2 separate regions of the Homo sapiens genome follow, and region 2 is linked to region 1. The links are contacts of gene promoters, found by promoter capture Hi-C in human tissues and cell types (Jung and others, 2019). All regions are on one chromosome and are shown on one strand. The core of a region is centred on a gene start or on the middle of the fragment in contact, and the rest is flanking DNA. Distances in the headings are between cores, read along the strand shown. Region 1 holds the start of NUDT8 (nudix hydrolase 8). Region 2 overlaps LOC107984341 (a long non-coding RNA gene).

Evidence for each region. The method cuts DNA at HindIII sites, captures the fragments that hold promoters and counts their contacts. A contact is called where the count stands out against the background at its distance.
Region 2: a contact is called between a fragment that was not itself captured here and the fragment with the promoter of NUDT8 in region 1, in 1 of the 25 tissues and cell types used here (spleen).

Annotation. Positions count from the first base shown.
Region 1 is chr11:67,623,646-67,631,196 of GRCh38, forward strand. It overlaps NUDT8 (nudix hydrolase 8), which reads right to left and starts at 6,292. Exons shown (of 4, transcript NM_001243750.2): 1 at 6,073-6,292; 2 at 5,274-5,406; 3 at 4,678-4,755; 4 at 4,293-4,606. The coding sequence starts at 6,266. The coding sequence ends at 4,301. It overlaps LOC124902696 (a long non-coding RNA gene), which reads left to right. Exons shown (of 2, transcript XR_007062741.1): 2 at 2,409-3,748. RefSeq lists an enhancer at 1,968-2,497 and silencers at 4,833-5,127, 5,695-5,844, 6,135-6,924, 7,045-7,214. The HindIII fragment of the contact is 11,433 bases long and covers 4,064-7,551 here.
Region 2 is chr11:67,109,568-67,116,673 of GRCh38, forward strand. It overlaps LOC107984341 (a long non-coding RNA gene), which reads right to left. Exons shown (of 2, transcript NR_160735.1): 2 at 2,725-3,088. Among named protein-coding and RNA genes, the nearest start is that of KDM2A, 6.1 kb to the right of the region's middle. The HindIII fragment of the contact is 5,381 bases long and covers 1,243-6,623 here.

The sequences.
Region 1 (7,551 bases), core at 5,042-7,541:
CCCACCCAGTCCAAATCAGGTTAAAAGATCCCACCACTTTTCCTTATCAAAGGCAATATCCCTTAAGGCCTGAAGCTCATAAAGGATTACAGAATATTGTTAAACATTTGAAAGCTCAAGGCTTAGTAAGGAAATGCAGCAGTCCCTGCAACACCCCAATTCTGGAAGTACAAAGACCGAGACTAGTGCAAGATCTTAGACTCATTAATGAGGCAGTAATTTCACTATATCCAGTTGTACCCAAACCCTATACCCTGCTCTCTCAAATACCAGAGGAAGCAGAATGGTTCACAGTTCTGGACCTCAAGGATGCCTTCTTCTGTGTTCCCCTGCACTCTGATTCACAGTTCCTCTTTGCTTTTGAGGATCCCACAAACCACACATCCCAACTTACATGGATGGTCTTGCCCCAAGGGTTTAGGGATAGCCCTCATCTGTTTGGTCAGGCCCTAGCCAAAGATCTAGGCCACTTCTCAAGTCCAGGCACTCTGGTCCTTCAATATGTGGATGATTTACTTTTGGCTACCAGTTAGGAAGCCTTGTGCCAGCAGGCTACTCTAGATCTCTTGAACTTTCTAGCTAATCAAGGGTACAAGGTGTCTATGTCGAAGGCCCAGCTTTGCCTACAGCAGGTTAAATATCTAGGCCTAATCTTAGCCAAAGGGACCAGGGCCCTCAGCAAGGAGTGAATACAGCCTATACTGGCTTATCCTCGCCCTAAGACATTAAAACAGTTGAGGGAGTTCCTTGGAATTACCAGCTTTTGCCGACTATGGATCCCTGGATACAGCGAGACAGCCAGGCCCCTCTAATCAAGGAAACCCAGAGGGCAAATACTCATCTAGTTGAGTGGGAACCAGAGGCAGAAACAGCCTTCAAAACCTTAAAGCAGGCTCTAGTACAAGCTCCAGCTTTAAGCCTTCCCACAGGACAGAATTTCTCTTTATATGTCAGAGAGAGAGCCGGGATAGCTCTTGGAGTCCTCACTCAAACTCATGGGACAACCCCACAACCAGTGGCATACCTAAGTAAGGAAATTGATGTAGTAGCAAAAGGCTGGCCTCACTGTTTAAGGGTAGTTGCAGCAGTGGCCGTCTTAGCATCAGAGGCTATCAAAATAATACAAGGAAAGGATCTCACTGTCTAGACTACTTATGATGTAAATGGCATACTAGGTGCCAAAGGAAGTTTATGGCTATCAGACAACTGCCTACTTAGATACCAGGCACTACTCCTTGAGGGACCAGTGCTTCAAATATGCACATGCATGGCCCTCAACCCTGCCACTTTTCTCCCAGAGGATGGGGAACCAATCAAGCATGACTGCCAACAAATTATAGTCCAGACTTATGCCGCCCGAGATGATCTCTTAGAAGTCCCCTTAACTAATCCTGACCTTAACCTATATACTGATGGAAGTTCATTTGTGGAGAATGGGATACGAAGGTTAGTGATGTAACCATACTTGAAAGCAAGCCTCTTCCCCCAGGGACCAGTGCCCAGTTAGCGGAACTAGTGGCACTTACCCGGGCCTTAGAACTGGGAAAGGGAAAAAGAATAAATGTGTATACAGATAGCAAGTATGCTTATCTAATCCTACATGCCCATGCTGCAATATGGAAAGAGAGGGAGTTCCTAACCTCTGTAGGAACCCCCATTAAATACCACAAGGAAATTATAGAGTTATTGCACGCAATGCAAAAACACAAAGAGGTGGGAATCTTACACTGACAAAGCCATCAGAATAGGAAGGAGAGGGGAGAACAGCAGCATAAGCAGCTGGCAGAGGCAGCAGAAAGGAAAGAGACAGGAAGTCAAAGAAAGAGACAGAGAGGAAGAGACAAGAAGTTAGAGAGAAAGAGGGACAGACACAGAAAGTCAAAGAGAGGGTAAAAAAGAGAGGAAGAGACAAAGAAGAAGTCAAAGAGAGAGATGGAAGTAGTAAAGAAAAAACAGTGTACCTATTCCTTTAAAAGCCAGGGTAAATTTCTCTCTACCCAGCCAAGGCATATTCTCTTATGTGGATCTTCAACCCATATCTGCCTCTCAAAGTTGGAAGAAATAATGAAATCTATCCTTACTTTACAATCCCAAATAGACTCTTTGGCAGCAGTGACTCTCCAAAACCGCTGAGGCCTAGATCTCCTCACTGCTGAAAAAGGAGGACTCTGCACCTTCTTAGGGGAAGAGTGTTGTTTTTACACTAACCAGTCAGGGATAGCATGAGATGCCACCCAGCGTTTACAGGAAAAGGCTTCTGAAATCAGACGCCTTTCAAATTCTTATACCAACCTCTGGAGTTGGGCAACATGGCTTCTCCCCTTTCTAGGTCCCGTGGCAGCCATCTTGCTGTTACTCGCCTTTGGGCCCTGTATTTTTAACCTTCTTGTCAAATTTGTTTCCTCTAGAATCGAGGCCATCAAGCTACAGATGGTCTTACAAATGGAACCCCAAATGAGTTCAACTAACAACTTCTACCGAGGACCCCTGGACTGACCAGCTGGCACTTCCCCTGGCCTAGAGAGTTCCCCTCTGAAGGACACTACAACTGCAAAGCCCCTTCTTCGCCCCTATCCAGCAGGAAGTAGCTAGAGCAGTCATCGGCCAAATTCCCAACAGCAGTTGGGGTGTCCTGTTGATTGAGGGGAGACAGCATGCTGGCAGTCCTCACAGCCCTCACTCGCTCGCTCACTCTCGGCACCTCCTCTGCCTGGGCTCCCACTTTGGCAGCACTTGAGGAGCCCTTCAGCTCTGTATCTAGCTACTCTGATGGGTCCTTGGAGAACCTTTATGTCTAGCTCAGGGATTGTAAATACACCAATCAGCACCCTGTGTCTAGCTCAGGGTTTGTGAATGCACCAATGGACACTCTGTATCTAGCTACTCTGGTGGGGCCTTGGAGAACCTTTGTGTCAACACTCTGTATCTAACTAACCTGGTGGGGATGTGGAGAACCTTTGTGTCTAGCTCAGGGATTGTAAACGCACCAATCAGTGCCCTGTCAAACCACTCGGCTCTACCAATCAGCAGGATGTGGGTGGGGCCAGATAAGAGAATAAAAGCAGGCTGCCCGAGCCAGCAGTGGCAACCCGCTCAGGTCCCCTTCCACACTGTGGAAGCTTTGTTCTTTCGCTCTTTGCAATACATCTTGCTACTGCTCACTCTTTGGGTCCACACTGCTTTTATGAGCTGTAACACTCACCACAAAGGTCTGTAGCTTCACTCCTGAGCCAGCGAGACCACGAACTCACCAGAAGGAAGAAACTCCAAACACATCCGAACATCAGAAGAAACAAACTCCAGACGCACCACCTTAAGAGCTGTAACACTCACTGTGAGGGTCCATGGCTTCATTCTTGAAGTCAGTGAGACCAAGAACCCACCAATTCCGGACACACAACCGGCCATGTGACAGGCTCAGGGAAGGACATGTGACTCAAGGCAGGCCAGTGAAGTGCAATTCTAGGTTAGACTGGCCGGGAAGGAGCGGCCGTGTTTTCTGTTGATGGATGCTGCTGCCCTCTCCTCAACCTCTCACGCTCTGCACTACAGACAACCTCCTTGGGGCTGAGGCCAGCACAGCGCAAAGCACAGCAAGAGGGGAGCCCGAGCCCCTGGATCCAGCCATCCTCCACGGCAAGCTCAGACCACCCGCTCCCTCAGCTCTTTCACAGAACCCTGGTCTACCTAGTTGATGTCTTATATAATTCCACTATTATCTGTGATTAATTAATGTGGAACCACATGATTATCTGTGTGACCTGGTCTGAGGTCTCCCCTAGACTGAGCACCCCCTCTGGACGGCAGGTGAGCATCTGACCGGTCCACAGCTGTGGCCCCCACACAGCAGCTGGCACACACAGGGGCTCTGCATGTTAGACTCCTGCAGTAACACCCAGGGGCATGGGTGCGCCTTACTCCTCTCTGGGATCCCGGAGCCCAGCACAGCGTCAGCCAGGCACAGCAGAGAGAACAGGAGGTGCAGGCTGAGACAGGGCAGTGCAGTGCCTAAGAGTCTGGGCTGTGGAGTCTGAGAGCTCTGGTTCCAATCCCAGCGTGGGGCCCTTAGGCAAGGTGTCTCTCCTCCCTGAAAGCAGTCTCACCAGCCAGAGACAGTGTTGGCCCTGCCTTATGGGCTGTTGTGAGGGTGAGATGAATTGACTCCAAGTACTTGGCACCCAGGAAGTGTCCATTGCTGTGGGGCATGGCGTGACTGGAAGGAGGAGCCCCAGCCAGCGACCTGGAGTGGTCTGCCCAAGGTCAAGGCCCCAGTACAGCAGAAGCAAGAGCTCTAGAGCTGTCAAAGACCTTTATTCAGTCCTGGAGTGGAGCTGGCCTGACAGGGTGAAGCCAGGGGCTGCTTAGGGCGGGCCAGACCCTCAGCCCCTGAGCAGGTCAGGCCGGCCAGGCGGGGCTGGTAGGTACCAGGTGCCAGCAGCTGCAGGGCAAACTCAGTGATGACAGCTGTGAGGCCCCAGACCCGGTGTGGTCCATGCAGGAAGACGGGTAGTGTGTAGCGGAAGTGGCCACCCCGGCAGAAGTGGGTATAGCCCTGATTCTGCGTCTGCAGCAGGTGGGCCAGCGGCAGTGCAAACACCTCATCTACCTGCAGGCAGGAGGCAGAGAGGGTAGACAGAGGACTGGAACAGCCCAACCCCCTCATATCCCCCAGCTCACCTCCTCCGAGTTGGGCCTGAGGCTCTGGGGATCCAGTGGGCCTACACCAGCAAGCACTGGCACCACGGTGGCCTTTTGCTGGGGAAGAGGGCAGGTGGTCAGGGAAGCATGGCCTTCGCTGGGTTTGAAGGCTGGGGAGGGGAGTGTGAGAGGAAGACCCCTTTGCCATGCATAGGCCTTTGGTAGTCATGTTCGGGTCCACCTGCCTGTGTCCTCCAGCCATGCTGACTGACTCAGGTCCCCTCAAATGCACTAGACCTGTTCCCTCTGCTTAGGACAATCTCCCACTTGGCATTCAAGCCTGGGTTCAATCCCTGCCTACCCCATGAAGCTTCCCTGACCCTAATCCACCAAACTGAGTGGAGCTGGCCCACCCCATCGCCCTGGGCCACCTCTACTCAGGACACCAGAGCCTCCCCAATCCCTTCCCGAGGGGGTGTGTGGGGTGGTGCATGTGACCAGGCAGGTTAGGGGCACCCTTCCACACTTTGTGCCCGTGGGGGTCCATGACCACTCTCCTGGTCCCTGGTAGCCCAGCTCCAGGGCAGGCACAGAGTGAGTGAATGGGGTGGGGTGGCCTCAGCCAAGTGGCTTACCGGATCATACACAGGCCGCAGCAGGCCCCACACGTGCTCCTCGGGCACTGCCAGGCCCAGCTCCTCCCGGGTTTCCCGCAGGGCCGTGTGCACCACATCTTGGTCAGCCGGGTCGCACTTGCCGCCTGGGAAACTAAACAGACACAAGGAGTCTGGTCCTTGGACTCTTGGGGCCACGGAGAGGTCGGGGTATCGGCAGTGCGGGGGGGGCCACTGGCCCACCGAAGTGTCGCCTGCCTCTGCCCCTAGTTTACTGGGAGGCCCCAGGCAAGCCATGCGACCTCTGGAGGCCAGTTTACCTCCCTGAGCAATGGGGATAAGGAAGAGAGGCCCGGGACAGCGCAGGATAAGAGGGTCTGCAGCAGGGGCAAGAAGATCCTGGGGCTCAGATACCCAAATTCGGCCTATGGTGGCCCCAGCAACACTGACATTGTCCTCAGGATGTTCTTAATTCCCGCCGGGCGGGGCCCGAACCTCTCCGTAGTCGCCGGCAGGGGGCGGCGTCCGCCCTCTAAGCGGGAAACAGCTCAAAGGGGTGTCCCGGCCCAGGCGTGCGCGCAAGGACGCGTACGAGGGGCCCACGCGGCGAGGACGTGGCGCCCCGGCAGGTGCACCGGGGCCGACGGACACGGATCGCTGACCTCTCGCTGCAGCCCTTGGGCGGAGGGACTCTCCCCAGACCCATTTTACGGAGGCGGAAACCGAGGCTCGAAGGGGCTAAGTGCCCTGCCAGAGGTCCCTGCCAGCCCCGGGCTCCTGTAGCCTCCGGCAAAGGGCGAGGAGTTCCCGGCCGCTGTACCTGACGTCGCCCTTGTGCCTCCCGGTCAGGCGGCTGGACCGCAGCGTGTACAGCAGCGCCGGGACCCCACGCACTGAGCAGAGCGGCACGAGCACCGCGGCCGACGCGGGCCGCGCGCGGAGCCGGGCCGTGGCCCCTGCCAGCAGCCGGCGGCAGCGCAGCTCGCCCTCGGCCGACAGGCAGTCGGGCAGCATGTCAAGTCCTGCGCGGCCGGGACACTGAGGGCGCGGGATCGGGCGAGGGAAGAGGCGGGGCGAGGCGGGGCGGGGCGCTCAGCCCGGGTCCCTCCGAAAGCTGAGAGGGAGAAGGGGCAGCCCGCGCGACGCGTCCCGCCTGGGGGGCTGCAGAGCGGCAGCGGCGTCGGGGGGCCTCAGTGGGGTGGGTCTGTTCGTGGGCGGGGCCTTCCCGGAGACGGGGCCTCGGTGGGACTGGGTCTGTTCGGGGGCGGGGCCTGTTTGAAGGCGGGTCCTCGGTGGGACGGGGTCCGTTAGGGGGCGGGGCCTGTTTGAAGGCGGGGCCTCGGTGGGACGCGTTGAGTCCCCCGGATGGGAGGGACGGAGGGCGGCGGGGCGGGGCGGGGCGGGGCCTGCGCGGGAGCCGGACTCGGACGTTACTGCCAAAGGGCGGCGGGGCCTAGTAGGCAATCGAGGTTGGGGCGGGCTGGGGGCGGGGCCTGGACCGGAGCTTTTGCTACGAAGGACTGGGGGGCGTGGCCAGGAGGACTGTGCTTCCGGCAGGGCCGGGCCGTGGCCGGGGGTGTGGCCGCGGGGAGGGAGATGGGCGCGGAGCTGCAGGACCTGCCGGTTGTGTTCTCCGAGATCCTGAAACCACGCGAACCGTGAAGCGCCCGGCGACCGTCCTCGGTCCCGTTGGGTCCTGGCGTTGGGGTGTCTGATGAGGCCCCGCCGGCCCCCACTGGTCCGTCCCTCCCCTAGGGGCTCCAGGATGTACGGAGCCGGGATCCCACGGGGACGCCCCTCCAGGAACCCGAGGTCGATCGGTGCGCGAGAGGAGCGTCCGGCCCAGCCCTCCCTCCGGTCCTCCCTCCCGATACCGCTGGGTGGCGCGCGCCGCCCCCAGTCTTGTCTTCCCCTCTGGCTCCGTCGGACTCCAGCCCCAGGCCTTTGACCTCCTTGTCCCAGCGTCCAGAGCTCTTCTCCCTTCCTGCCTTGAGTCTTGACCGGATTCCCAAATCCCTCCCCCTTTCCTACCTCGGCCCCTGTGGTCACTGACCACCGTGGTTCTGCGCCCTTCCACCAGACCCTGGGCTTGGGGACCAGATGACCCCAGCCTTGCGCACAGCATTTAAACGTGGGGTGGCGGGTGTCCGCCATGCTCTGCTGTGTGACGTTGAGCAGGTCCCGCGCCTCTCTGAGCGCCAGTTTCGATCCTCATCTGGGCAAGTGCAGCCCTGCCACTGGGCTGGAGTCACCACTTTTAATATTACTGTGTGCTCCCAGGGATGCGGACGGCACTGGG
Region 2 (7,106 bases), core at 2,683-5,182, 520 kb before region 1:
ATGAAATAAATAGACAGATGGGTAAATCCTGTCATCAGCTCCAGTAATAAAGGAATGAGGTATAGATGTAGGGTCTCCCACATTTCTTCCACCAATAACATTATGCAGGAATAGAAAGTTAATGATATGAAGCTCACCAATAGGAAGATTATTTGATCAACAGTAAAAGTAGATCTAGAAATTATGACCAAATCGAACATGAACTCTAAGCTGTGGCAAATCAAGTATAATTGCAAAAAAAAAAAAAACCATGAAAATCTTACCTTAAACTCAGTCAATATTTTCTTGCAGTCCCCCAGAGAGTGTGAAAATAGATTTAGCCAGAAAGAAGGTAAAGACCAAATACATTTTCAGAGTTTAAATATTTAGCAAGCATTTTTTGGGGGAAAAAACAATATTGTCATTTTAAAGTTACACTGTTTAAATATAATGTACATTATAATTAAAGAGATATAATGAAAAATAATTGATTGGAGATATTAAGCTTATAATATCACATCAAAAGCTGCACTCCTGTCTGGGCGCGGTGGCTCATGCCTGTAATCCCAGCACTTTCGGAGGCCAAGGTGGGCAGAACACTTGAGGTCAGGAGTTTGAGACCAGCCTGGCCAACATGGTAAAACCCTGTTTCTACTAAAAATACAAAAATTAGCCGGGTGCGGTGGTGTGCAACTGTAATCCCTGCTACTTGGGAGGCTGAGGCAGGAGAATCGCTTGAACCCAGGAGGCAGAGATTACAGTGAGCCGAGATTACTCCACTGTACTCCAGTCTGGGCAACAGAGCAAGACCTTGTCTCAAAAAAAAACACCAAAAACGAGCGGGAGCAGTGGCTCACTCCTGTAATCCTAGCACTTTGGGAGGCCGAGGCAGGCAGATCATCTGAGGTCAGGAGTTTGATACCAGCCTGGCCAACATGGTGAAACCCTGTCTCTACTGAAAATACAAAAATGAGCCAGGCATGGTGGTAAGTGCCTGCAGTCCCAGCTACTTGGGAGGCTGAGGCAGGAGAATCTCTTGAACCTGGGAGGCGGAGGTTGCAGTGAGCCGGGATCATGCCACTGCACTCCAGCCTGGGCAACAGAGCAAGACACCATCTCAAAAAAAAAGAAGTCCAGGTGTGGTGGCTCATGCCTGTAATCCCAGGATTTTGGCAGGCTGAGGCAGGAGGTCAGGAGTTCGAGACCAGCCTGACCAACATGGAGAAACCACGTCTCTACTAAAAATACAAAAAATTAGCTGAGCATGGTGGTGGGCGCCTGTAATCCCAGCTACTCGGGAGGCTGAGGCAGGAGAATCGCTTGAATCTGGGAAGTGGAGGCTGTGGTGAGCCGAGATCACGCTAGTGCACTGCAGTCCAAGCAATGGAGCGATACTACGTCTCAAAAAAAAAAAATCTTGTGGCCACGTGCAGTGGCTCATGCCTGTAATCCTAGCACTTTGGGAGGCAGGCCAATAGCTTGAGACCAGGATTTGGAGACCAGCCAGGGCAACAGGGCAAAAACCCATCTCTACTAAAAATCCAAATACAAAAATTAGCCAGGTGTGGTGGCATGTGCCTGTAGTCCCAGCTATTCAGGAGGCTGAGGTGGGAAGACTGATCACCTGAGCCTGGGAGGTGGAGACTGCAGTGAGCTGAGAGTGCACCACTGCACTCTAGCCTGGGTGCCAGAGCAAGACCCTGTCTAAAAACAAAACAAAATAAAAAAAGTTGCACTGTGACGTGGACTCTAAAGTCAACATCCTAAACTGGAGACAGTAGAGGTAAGTGGAGCAGAAAGACAAGATCACAAGAGGAGCTGGAATAAAAAGACAGTGAAGAACTTGGCCCAAGATTCACATACCTCCTGGCTTGGTTTGCAGTAGTACAGGATTTGGTTTCTATCACTTCTATTCCAGCTGCAATGACAGCTGCAGGAACAGTTTCTCTGCAACAATTACTATTACATCAACCTTCTCTGCTCCAGAACATATGTGCCTCTCTTGCTCTCACAAAACCAAGCTTCTCTGCAAGGATTCAATGCTCTCCAGCCTTCATATTCCTTCCCTCAAAAGCAACACTGCACTACTTTATTGGCTGATTCAATAAATATGAAGGAATGAGTGCCAACTATGCCTGGCACTGTTCTAGGCATTGGGGAATCCAGCAATGAACAAAACTTCCTGCCCCACGGGGCTTATATCCAAGTGCAATTTGAAGACCAGTTCTTATGGTCTAAATGATCTTCCAGCAATTCATTGGAATGATGATTGTTCTCTGAGTATGTCACATCTTCATGGTGTCCTTTCTTCGATATGAAGTTTTCGAAGGTAAAAGTCAAGCCTTCTAACTTTTCAAATCTCCTTTCTCTATCCAAGCACTTAATTTAGCATTGGGCACAGTGTACTCAGTAAGTACCCAAATCCTACATGTAGGAGAAAAAGAAACTGGACAATGCATTGTACACTTAAAACTTTGTTAAAATGGTAAATCTCACATCAAGTGTTCTTACCACAATAAAATAAAAATAAATTTAAAATAGGAGAACTGGCCAGGTGCAGTGGCTCATGCCTGTAATCCCAGGCACTTTGGGAGGTCAAGGCAGGAGTATCACATGAGGCCAGGAGTTCGAGACCAGCCTGGGGAACATAGTGAGACCCTGTTTCTATGAAAAAAAAAATTACCAAGTAAAAAATTTTTTAAAAATAGGAAAACCAGAAATCCTTTTTTTTTCTTTTTTTTTTTGAGATGGAGTTTCACTCTTGTTGTCCAGGCTGGAGTGCAAAAGCGCGATTTCGGGTCACTGCAACCTCTGCCTCCCGGGTTCAAGTGATTCTCCTGTCTCAGCCTCCCAAGTAGCTGTGATTACAGGCATGTGCCACCATGCCCAGCTAATTTTGTATTTTTAGTAGACATGGGGTTTCTCCATGTTGGTCAGGCTGGTCTCGAACTCCCAACCTCAGGTGATCTGCCCACCTTGGCCTCCCAAAGTGCTGGGATTACAGGCATGAGGCACTGTGCAAGACCTCAGAAATCCTTTCTAAAATAAGTTGTCTTCTAGTTTCCAAAGGGTATTCATGTCCATTAGTCCATTTCACTCCACAACAATCCTAGGAGGAAACAGGGCAGGAGTCACTACTTCTGTTTTATTTATATACATTATATATATAAAATATATATGTTTTAAATATATGTTTTATATATATTATATATATTTATATACATGTATTATGTTTTATATATATTATATATATTTATATACATATATTATATATAATATATATTTTTTTGAGACAGAGTCTTGCTCTGTTGCCCAGGCTAGAGTGCAGTGGCACGATCTCGGGCTCACTGCAACCTCCGCCTGCCTCCCAGGCTTAAGTGATTCTCCTACCTCAGCCTCCCGAGTAGCTGGGAATACAGGCATGTGCCACCGCGCCCAGCTAATTTTTGTATTTTTAGTAGAGATAGGGTTTCACAATGTTGCCCAGGCTGGTCTTGAACTCCTGACCTCAGGTGATCTGCCCGCCTTGGTCTCCCAAAGTGCTGGGATTACAGGCTTAAGCCACCGCGCCCAGCCTACTCTGTTTTATTAAAGAGAACTGAAGTTCTGACGGGTTCAGAACCTCTCACAAAGTGGCTGAAGGAACACCAGCTTTAGCAGAAACTGATGAAAGGTAGCGAATGCCCTTGAAGAAGATAAAAAAAGATCAGACTCATTGGGAGGGGCTAAACAGGTCTAAGTGCTTAAGCATTTGGCCCTTTGGGGAAGTGGCTGGAGCCCTGTATGACTGTCACCACCAACCCAAGCTGGGAATCTAGTGCAAGGTTGCAAACAGACCCTGAAACCCCAGGGTGCCAGAAACTTCCCCCAGCAAGCACAGGTGTAGCTGAGGCACAGGCTCTGCATCTTAGAGCTCCACTCTCGGGCACAGCAGGAAGTCCCACCCTTTTAGAAGTGAGAAATGAGGGTGGCCTGGCCCCAAAGCGAAGCTAAGGCTGCTAAAGAGCAGGTGGGGCCCAGACACTGCTGCAGTTGCCCCAACAGCCAAAGTACACCCCAGCGCTCAGGAGCAGTGGGTCTGCACAGCGGAAGGTGACATACCTGGAAAAGATGGCAGCAAGGAAGCATGGGGCCAGGGAGGGTGGTGGTCCCATGGTCCCAAGGAAAGCGTCAGCCACATTCCATGCAAGAACCTCATGTGACACCCATGTTTGATGATCCAAGAATCTGCAGGGCATTTCTGCTTCATTTTTTTCCCCCTGATCAATTCAGGTTCCAAACTCAAAAAAAAAAAAAAAAGAAAAGAAAAGAAAAAAGAAAGAAAACTTTCAGCTGGGCGTGGTGGCTCACGGCTGTAATCCCAGCACTTTGGGAGGCGGAGGTGGGTGGATCACCAGGTCAGGAATTCGAGACCAGCCTGGCCAACATGGTGAAACCCCGTCTCTACTAAAAATACAAAAATTAGCCAGGCACGGTGGCGGGCACCTGTAATTCCAGCTACTCAGGAGGCTGAGACAGGTGAATCGCTTGAACCCAGGAGGTGGAGTTTGCAGTGAGCTGAGATCGCGCCACTGCACTCTAGCCTGGGCAACAGAGCGAGACTCCAACTCAAAAAAAGAAAAAAAAGAAAACTTTCTATCACTTAAAGCTTATAATCACCCCCCAACACCCTTTAACCCTAGAAGAAGTTTTCTTTCTTTTTTTCTTTTTTCCCGGGGTGGGGGGTGCGGGTGGAGGGAGATGTTCAGGAAATGGTTAAGTAACAAAATCAGAGAGCACGGGATTGAGGTGATTAAGGGCAACAAATGGATGGTAAAGGAAAGTGGGAAAGCCATTCAGTCAGATGATACTGGGCCAGGAGAGTGAGATGAACATGGAGGAGGGGGTGGGCCAAATGATGGAGAGAAGGCTGGAAAGAAAGAGACTTCAGGAGGCAGGTGATGAGGAGAAAGAGGCAGCTGGAGTCAGGGAAGAGGGAAGAATAGAAAGCGGAGACACCAGGGTCGGGGGTCGGGGAGAGAAACCAGGAGTTAGGATAGGGAAGAGGGCCGGGTGTGGTGGCTCATGCCTGTTATCCCAGCACTTTGGGAGGCAGAGGGGGGCGGATCACCTGAGACAGGGAGTTTGAGACCAGCCTGGCCAACATGGTGAAACCCTGTCTCTACTAAAAACACAAAAATTAGCCAGGCATGGTGGCGGGTGCTTGTAATCCCAACTTCTCAGGAAGCTGAGGCAGGAGAATTGCTTGTACCCGGGAGGTGGAGGTTGCAGCGAGCCAAGATCATGCCATTGCACTCCAGGCTGGGTGACACGGTGAGACTGTCTCAAAAAAAAAAAAAAAAAAAAAAGGGAGGGGGAAGAGAATCGAGGAATAAGTCATCACACTTAATGTCTATGCAAACTCTTGACTCACATGAAAACTTCAAGTTTCTTAAATATTGAAGCATCTTTACTTAAAACCTTCCTTCCCTTCTTTTTTTTTTTTTTTTTTTTTTTTAGAGACATGGTTTCACTGTCACTCAGGCTGAAGTGCAGTGGCATAGTCATAGTTCATAGTCCAACTCCTGGGCTCCAGCAATCCTCCACCTCAGTCTCTTTTTTTGTTTGTTTTTTTTTGAGACGGAGTCTCCCTCTGTTGCCCAGGCTGGAGTGCAGTGGCGCGATCTCGGCTCCCTGCAACCTCCGCCTCCCTGGTTCAAACGGTTCTCCTGCCTCAGCCTCCTGAGTGGCTGGGATTACAGGCAGGGACTACAATGCTCAGCTATTTTTTGTATTTGTAGTAGAGACGGGGTTTCACTATGTTGGCCAGGCTGGTCTCAAACTCCTGACCTCATGATCCGCCTGCCTCGGCCTCCCAAAGTGCTGGGATTACAGGCGTGAGCCATGGCGCCCGGCCAAAGCTTTTTAGCCACTGATTATGCTACCTCCTGGGGAACCTTCACAACCAACTTCTCTATTTTAGTTTAGACCTACACTGTTTGGGACATCTTTACTTCCTCCTTAACATTTAAGGAGAAATTGGAAATAGTTTAGCTTAACCAGACTAAAGAGTTCTCTTTTCACACCCTAAAGTCTCCCAAAAGAAATGGGTGGGCCGGGCGTGGTGGCGGACGCCTGTAATCCCAGCTACTTGGAGGCTGAGGCGGGAGAATTGCTTGAACCCAGGAGGTGAAGGTTGCAGTGAGCCAAGATTGAGCCACTGCACTCCAGCCTGGGCAACAAGAGCAAAACTCCATCCCAAAAAAAGAAAAGAAGAGAAAATAAGAGAAAAGAAAATGGTGACTGGATTTTCACTCTCAGCATTTGTTGAGTCTTAGCTTTGCTCAAAAAGGCAGTGATTTATTAATATCTTATTAAGATGCCAATTTATTCCAGCCAGGGACCCTGTTCTCAATGCCTCTAGAATGCATTTTTATTTCCTTCTTCCCATATACCATTGTCAGGGTTGAAGCCAGAGAGTTCATAGTTGGGGAATCCCCCAAGCTCTATTCTCCCTGCAAATGGCTGTTTTAGGGCAATGCAGCCTCACAGATCTGTCCTTGCCAATCAGAGCCACTGTGATGGCGGGAGGAATCACTAGCCATCTGTCTACCTCTTATCTCACCCTATATATCTGCTCTGGATTATTAACAAAGCCTGCCTGTGGAGAAACCATTGTGTATATCTGTTTAAATGTCCCGTTCCCCCAACGCAGACTAGTTAACAAATGGTTTCCTACGGCAAAAGAGCTGGCTGCAATCTGACAAATCTTGCTCTACTGGCAGTCCCATTCAAAATAAGTACTACTATTATTGTTCTAGAGCCTTTTTTTGGGGGGGGGGCGGGGAGATGGAGTCTCACTCTGTAGCCCAAGCTGGAGTGCAATGGCGCCATCTCGGCTCACTGCAACCTCCACCTCTTGCATTCAAGTGATTCTCCTGCCTCAGCCTCCCATGTAACTGGGATTATAGGCATGCACCACCACGCCCGGCTAATTTTGTATTTTTTTTTTAGTAGAGACAGGGTTTTGCCATGTTGGCCAGGCTGGTCTTGAACGCCTGACCTCAGGTGATCCACCTGCCTTGGCCTCCCAAAGTGCTGGGATTACAGGCGTGAGCCACCGCGCCCGGCCTGTTCTAAAGCCTTTC